Linked DNA regions of Homo sapiens: region 1 is linked to region 2. The links are contacts of gene promoters, found by promoter capture Hi-C in blood cells and fetal thymus (Javierre and others, 2016). All regions are on one chromosome and are shown on one strand. The core of a region is centred on a gene start or on the middle of the fragment in contact, and the rest is flanking DNA. Distances in the headings are between cores, read along the strand shown.

Region 1 (3,932 bases), core at 1,240-3,739, 1.7 Mb before region 2:
TTAATCTAGGAAATCTGTGTAATCAAGGGTGTGTGTGTGCGTTCACATGTGTCCCCGTGCTTTAGGGGAGGAGGTTCAGGTGAGTTGAGGTAGGTGGGGAAATAGTAACCAGAGGAACGTCTGTTGACAAGTCACTTGGTGCTCTAGTTGTAGGCAAGCCGTTCACCATCATCTCTTGCTTTTGTCACCGCTGGGTGTTTGGCTGGATCGGCTGCCGCTGGTATGGATGGGCTGGATTTTTCTTTGGCTGTGGAAGCCTTATCACCATGACTGCTGTCAGCCTGGATCGATATTTGAAAATCTGCTATTTATCTTATGGTAAGTTGGCAGGTTTCTCATTCCCTGACAGTTAAAGCTAGGTGGATTGAGTGTTAGAACTGTACATATTTTATGCAGGTAATAAACAAAGATTATGAATAACCTCAGAGATCAAGAATATTTCTATTTATAGCCTATCATCTTGTTCTGACATGTTTAAGGATTTTAACCTATGTCAAAGTAGATTTCTTTTAATACATATTTTATAGTAATGTCTGGTGTTTGGTTATAATGCTTTAAAAAAGTACCATTTTCTTGTATAGTGTGTAAGCTTCCATCATGTTTCCCACGCAAACAAAAGAAATAAAGTGCATCGAAAGGGTGTTAAGTCCAAGATGTTTAGCTCATTCCCCACCTAGGAAGTGTAATTATAAGAAAAGCTGTTTAAGATTCTCCCTTAGGACTCACGCTCCCTGTGATTTCAGAGATAAGGAATTCCAAAAAGTTCACCTCCAAGTTAGAGTCATGTAGCTGTTTCTGCATGAAAGGACACACATGTAGAAATATCACTCAACATATTTTTTTTTGTGGTGTTGGTTGGTAGAAAGATGAGTGATTACAAGAATTGGTGAATCAGCAGAAAATAAGTTTCCAGGGACTAAATATATGTTTTTTAATGATTAGACCATTCTACAGGTTAAAAATAATTTCTACTACATTTGTTTGTTGGAGCTCTCGGAATTTATCAAACCTGAAAGAATTGCATTTGGGTCTTTAAGTTTAATATTGAGAACCAGGCACAACCAAGGAACAGTACTGACTTCCTCTGGATAAAGTTGCTTTGATTGTCAATCTGTCAATTAGAGTGGTTGTGATGGACGACAGACTGTGGTGTCAGAGCAGGGCCTGGAGACTGAGGTGGGAAAAATCAAGTTGACCTGACACTGTCAATGTGGTAGAATTTCCCTTTGTATTGTTATAGTTTACATCCCCAAACTCCAAAGAATCCATGCTTGGGTGGGTGGGAGGCGGGGGCTTGTGAGCCATTCTCTTCATCATCCAGCACTACGTTTTTTTTTTTTTTTTTAAAGTTTACATCTCCTTTTTTAAACATTTAAAACTTCCAATAGAAATAGCTTGAATCAAAATTTCCAGTAAGATATAAAATATACAACTATACATATTCTGTGTGACGTCAACATCTAATTCTTTCTATAGACTTATTTTTGTTCATACCAAAGAGATTTTAAATTTAACTATAGATTTTATAGATAAGAAGGCAAAAAAGTTAAACTTCCTGAGAGTGTTTGAGGAATACTAAACCCTGATACCTCTGTTTTTAAATATTTTCTTGAGTTTAGGCTTTGTCAGTTAAAGAGATGATGCCGCCCACTGCCAGGATCATTGCAGGTCATAACTCCATATGTGGGAACTGTGTATATTTTCCAGCTTCTTCTAAGGTTGAACCTCAGTAGTGTGGTTTCATCATTTAATCTGATGCACTATTAAACCCTCCACACAGCGTCCCAGAATGTTGGAATTAGAAGGTCGCTTGGGGATGTGTAGACTTTTCTCCCATGTAACGTGGTAAACTGTTTTAAGGCATCCCTGAGAGATGACCACTTGGCCTCTTCTTGAATAATTCCAGTGACCAGTGACGGGGAGCTTACTACTGCACAAGGCAGCCCATTCTCTGATTGGTCTGCTCTCATTGTTACAATGTTATTCCTTATATTAAGACAAAACTGCCTCCCAGTAACCTCCACCCATTGGTCCTAGTTCTGACTTCTGGAGCAACACAGAACCAATCTACTAATCTACTCCCTCCTGTACTTGACAGCCTTTCACCATACTGGAATGTAAGTATAAAACACCTCACAAGTAACCCTAACCATAAATGCTTATACGTATGCCTATGCACATTCCCATGAATATATGTGATTACCTGTGCCAATGTTTTATCAGTTTTAGTGGAGAAACAAGAGCTGACTTATATTGTGGCTACATGATTGCCACCCCTATCTGGTTGGGCATGAAATTTGCATTTCATGACACAAAATGCCATGTATTTGAAAAAAATGGAGACAATAGAGTATAGAAACAATCTGTTATATTTCTTATTAGCGCTAAATGAGATACACTTACACAGGAGTAAAATAATTCATGTTAATATAGCACTTTCTAGTTTGCAAAGCAGGCCCCTTACATTATTTTATTTAACCCATATGCAATATAGTCTTGCATGCACAAGGTCAGTCAAAGACTAGACATAGAAGAATTAGGCCTGACCGACTTTCCAAACCTCACATTGCACTAAGCAGAGGCAGGCCCTGAGTCTATATTGAAGTAATCATTTAGCTTTTGTTGAATATATTTTGATATTTCTTCTCTGCTAACACAAAACCAAGGCAGTAAAGAGTCACTTTCCTGGCCCTCTTCGTTCGAGGTGATGAGTGAGGTGTGAAGGTAATTTCCTGTGGAGGCTGCTGCACTAAATCAGGCCGACCTGTCTTTGGTGGTTGTGTTGAATTCTGAAAATGATCACTAGTGCTTTACAGCTTTTCTTAGATGACTGCACTATTTCCTCCGCTTGGAATTCTCTTTTGGTTAACAGAAACTAGTGCTGAAAAACGGAGCTCATTTTTTGTCTTCCTGAAAATATCTTCACAGAATTACTTTGCAGAACATGATGCAACCTACCTAGATTCTCTGCCTCTCCCGCTGTGGCTGTGTGAGCGCGATTGTTGTGTGAATGACGTTTGAAGATTCCAAACCTGCTCCACAAATTACTAAACACAGTCAAGGACTTTAATCTCAAACCATAGTGTCATGATCACGAGCCACCAAGCCCCTTCCACAAGTTCTTAGGAAGCCAGATAAGACTAGCAACACAAAAGCTGTTAGCAGGAAGGGCGTTTTAAAGACACAAGCCATGTTTTGTGCTTCCTCACCTCCCAGAAGGATTTTCCCTGGATGATCCACTAACACACCCTTTCCGAGATGTTTTCTCAAGGGCCTCCATTGTCTTCAGCATCCTCTCATCTCTTTCCTGTCCCTTTTCCCAGCTGTTGTCACTTCTCCCTCCCAAAGCTCCCAGATGCCTAGAGAAAACCTTCCAATTGTGTTCTCCTGGAGAAAGGCCCAAGCTCTGGAACTTTTTTCCGTTTACTCCACTCTCCCTCAGGCTTCAGTTATCTGCCCAGGTCTCCCAGAAATCAATGGAATAAATCTTTGGAGGTGGAATTTGACATATCGAGGGGAGGTATCTGGGTGTAGGGCAGATTACATCCGGGTAATGCTTTTCTTCCGCCTCCAGGGGTTTGGCTGAAAAGAAAGCACGCCTACATCTGCCTGGCAGCCATCTGGGCCTATGCTTCCTTCTGGACCACCATGCCCTTGGTAGGTCTGGGGGACTACGTACCTGAGCCCTTCGGAACCTCGTGCACCCTGGACTGGTGGCTGGCCCAGGCCTCGGTAGGGGGCCAGGTTTTCATCCTGAACATCCTCTTCTTCTGCCTCTTGCTCCCAACGGCTGTGATCGTGTTCTCCTACGTAAAGATCATTGCCAAGGTTAAGTCCTCTTCCAAAGAAGTAGCTCATTTCGACAGTCGGATCCATAGCAGCCATGTGCTGGAAATGAAACTGACAAAGGTAAGTGCACTAATATTTTACAC
Region 2 (3,411 bases), core at 119-2,618:
TATTTTTCTGAGTAAAGTGATAATATGTATTGCGGATTTGTTCACCTGGGTTTTCAGAAGACAATTCCTTTAAATTAATCTTACATTGGGAATCTCCTTTTTTCCTCCTTTTTCCGTTAATCTCAGAGTTAAAAGTTTGCCTTAGCCTAATATATATACATATCTCAAATTTAATTACCTTCAACCATACTTTCCAGGAAAAGGAATGTTTTGCCTTTTTATTATTTTTTTCTTCAGGCAAAAATTAGTTCCAATTAGTTCTGATGTTTTATAAAGAACAAAGAGCTCAAATTTCTGTTTTAAATGCACTTGGAAACAAGACGTAATCTAAATTTGGGGAGACTTTTACATGTCTCAGAGTTTATAAATAACCAGACCCCAAACTTTTTAAAGTTTCCCCTAGGATATTGCACTTACTGTCTAAAGGAGTTCCTGTTTTGCAAATAAAAAAAAAGCTTAACTTTTAAAAAATATATTTTACTCAGTTAATATTTAGAAAACTATATTTATATAGGCTCCTTAGGTCCAAGAGTAGGTATACTTTGTTCTCAGTAACATCTTTTAAAAAAGAAGTTATCAATGTATACAGCAAGATCAAAAACTCTTATTTTGACATCTAGTAATTGACATCTAATACAATTTCTCCATTTGCTGTCAACTACTAGCTGCCCATTGTATTACAAAGCTCAGTGTCCTCTAGTGAAGAATGCCCTACCTTACCATTTTATGAGACCTAAATGTGGTAAACAGAATCCTCCCATCTAACCACATTCAAACTGAAGCACTCTGCATATGCCGTTGAGACATTTGTGTTGCATATTATTTCAAGATGTAGATATTGAGTGCTGAGATGTCCAAGTAAATACTTACATGGTGGTTAAAATTGCAGTCTTTTGAAAGAAGTGAGTAAACTCTGAATGACTTTTCATTTAAAAGAATAGGCTGAAGTAATTAAAATTCTTGAAATTACTCTCATGTACTTATGTATCCTCTGTAGAGATTACCCCCTTTCAGCCTTGGAAGTTTAGGGCAGCAAAATCATTTTCTTCAGAATATATAAAAAAATAACTAAAGGGTCAATACCTTTATATTACTTTCTTATCGTACTACCATTTGCCTGGGCTCCTCTTCTTTTTATTCTCCTTCATGAGATACTGATTAATAGACAGGTTTTATGGCTAGAAAATACCTATCTCTAAATCAAGATTAGTATTCATTGGCTTTTACACCATAAGGCTAAATGTGATAAAAAGGAAGAGATGGAGTGGAAATGCCTGTGCTCTATGTGAGATGATTTTCACCTGATCACCATCATAAACTCCTCCCCGTCTACAGGTGTGGGCACTTTTTTTTTTTTCTCTCCCTCCTGTTTCCACTAAGGGCTAATTAGAGAGGTAGCCTTGAAGAATAAACTTACCATTTATATAAAAGGGCTACTGGACTGATACACAGCTGAAAACCCTCAGTTCTGGACTGAACTCCCAGCAGGTAAACATTTATTCATTAATATAATACATTTCAAGTCATAGTTTATAATTGCAGAAAGGGATGGGAAAAATAGAGAAGAGATGAAATCCAACCTTATACAGAACGAATACATTGTAATTAGGTTTCAAGGAAAGATATATTTTGTTTTGTTTCTTGGCGTGTTTTTGTTTGGGGTTTTTTTAACTCCTAAATTTTGATATGAGGAAAATTTTTACTCTTAAATTTTGATGTGAGGAAAATAAGTATTACCAAGTATAAATTTGTTTGCATTGTGATATGGGCACAACTAGAGCAACCTCTCTGAACAAAAATCCTAACATATGAAAAATAATTACTAGCATTGGATTCCAAGTGCTTAAAAAAATGTATTTCCTCATTAACAAATGCCCACCATTATATTGTAAATATTGTATTACATTACAAAAACAGAGATCTTATGTTTTATTGCTTATAAGACTTAAAAGTCTCCCAGGAGAGTGTCATGCTTTCATTGTTATGATAAATATTAATGAATAAAATATTTTAGATGCTTGCTCTGTGCTTATAAACACTCAAATGCCCCCAAAGAAACTTCAGTTTCTAAAACTTACATGAGCATAATTCTTTTTCTTGACAAATACTTTCAAACAGTGAGTCTATTGGTTATAATTTGGTTAAAGGAGTTACCAACCTTTAACTTCCAATTCCAGAACATACTGATTATGGACAGTACTAATCAAGTGGTAAGGATATGACATTCTGCTCTTGTAGCTTTCAGAGTTAATCGTCATTATGACTCTCTAACATGTTACAAAAATGTGTAGAAAATATTTTCTGCATCAATGAGAATTTCTGCTCTACCTTGTGGCATTAAAAAAATTTCTATTTAATGAAAGATCCTTATGAAATGAATCACTGTTTACTGAAAGGGTATTGTCAAATGTAGATTAATTGTAGTGTCCTCTCTGCATGAACCCATGGGGGAATGTCTCTGATTTTAGTTTGTCACCCTGAGTAATTTGTGAGTTGCATGAGTATAGTCTAGAAGGGTAAGTTGAAGCCAATTAAGTAGAGGTTTTGCTATTAAGAAGCTGGAGGCCAGGCAGGGTGGCTCACACCTGTAATCCCAGCACTTTGGGGGGCCAAGGCAGGTGGATCACATGAGGTCAGGAGTTTGAGATCAGCCTAGCCAACATGGTGAAACCCCCCATCTCTACTAAAAATATAAAAAAAACTAGCCAGGCGTTGGTGGTGTGTATCGCGGGAGCTGGCCAGCAGCCCGCAATGCAACGGGGCTCTCTCTTTGTTCCTAGGTGGATTGGCAGGTCGAGAAATAAGAGACTCACACAAGATAGTGAAAGCAGGTCCCGCGGTGCCGCCAATGCACTGACTATACCAGCATTTATTATTAAGTTTAGTGAGGGCAGCGGTAGGTTAGTGAGGGATTTAGGGTCATTTGATTATGAGGTGAGATGGTCACATGGGGATGAAGTAATTCTTTAACATAATATCTGTATGCAGAAGTACAGTATACAGAGATAAGAATTTACAATATAGTGTGTGCATCAGTAATTTCTAACAGAGCCTTAAAACAGAAACACAGTCTTTCCATAACCTATGATTAGCAGGATATTAATCAGCAGTAACAGTTGCAGCAAAAGCTGGTTACAAACAATCCATAGAAACAGGATGTGAAGCTAGACAACTAGTTAGACCAGAAATCCTCAGAAGGAAATATGTCTTAACCCTAAAGAGGCCTAGAAGAGCTGTGGCAAGATGAGCGTGTTATAGCCCTATCTTATCCATATGGACAGGCACCCCTCATTCGTCCATTTATAGGCTATCCACAAGGGTCGCATTCCATTCCCAGAGCTATGAACATCTGCTTTTCTGGGATAGGAATCTTGGTGATGTGAAACCTCCCTGAATGCACATCCATTCATA

The links. The method cuts DNA at HindIII sites, captures the fragments that hold promoters and counts their contacts. A CHiCAGO score of 5 or more calls a contact.
Region 1: a contact is called between a fragment that was not itself captured here and the fragment with the promoter of GLYATL3 in region 2, in 1 of 17 cell types (M0 macrophages). The highest score is 5.7, in M0 macrophages.

What each region holds. Positions count from the first base shown.
Region 1 is chr6:47,791,655-47,795,586 of GRCh38, forward strand. It overlaps OPN5 (opsin 5), which reads left to right. Exons shown (of 7, transcript NM_181744.4): 3 at 148-318; 4 at 3,575-3,909. Among named protein-coding and RNA genes, the nearest start is that of OPN5, 12 kb to the left of the region's middle. The HindIII fragment of the contact is 3,804 bases long and covers 588-3,932 here.
Region 2 is chr6:49,498,555-49,501,965 of GRCh38, forward strand. It overlaps GLYATL3 (glycine-N-acyltransferase like 3), which reads left to right and starts at 1,369. Exons shown (of 6, transcript NM_001010904.2): 1 at 1,369-1,488. The HindIII fragment of the contact is 14,834 bases long and covers 454-3,411 here.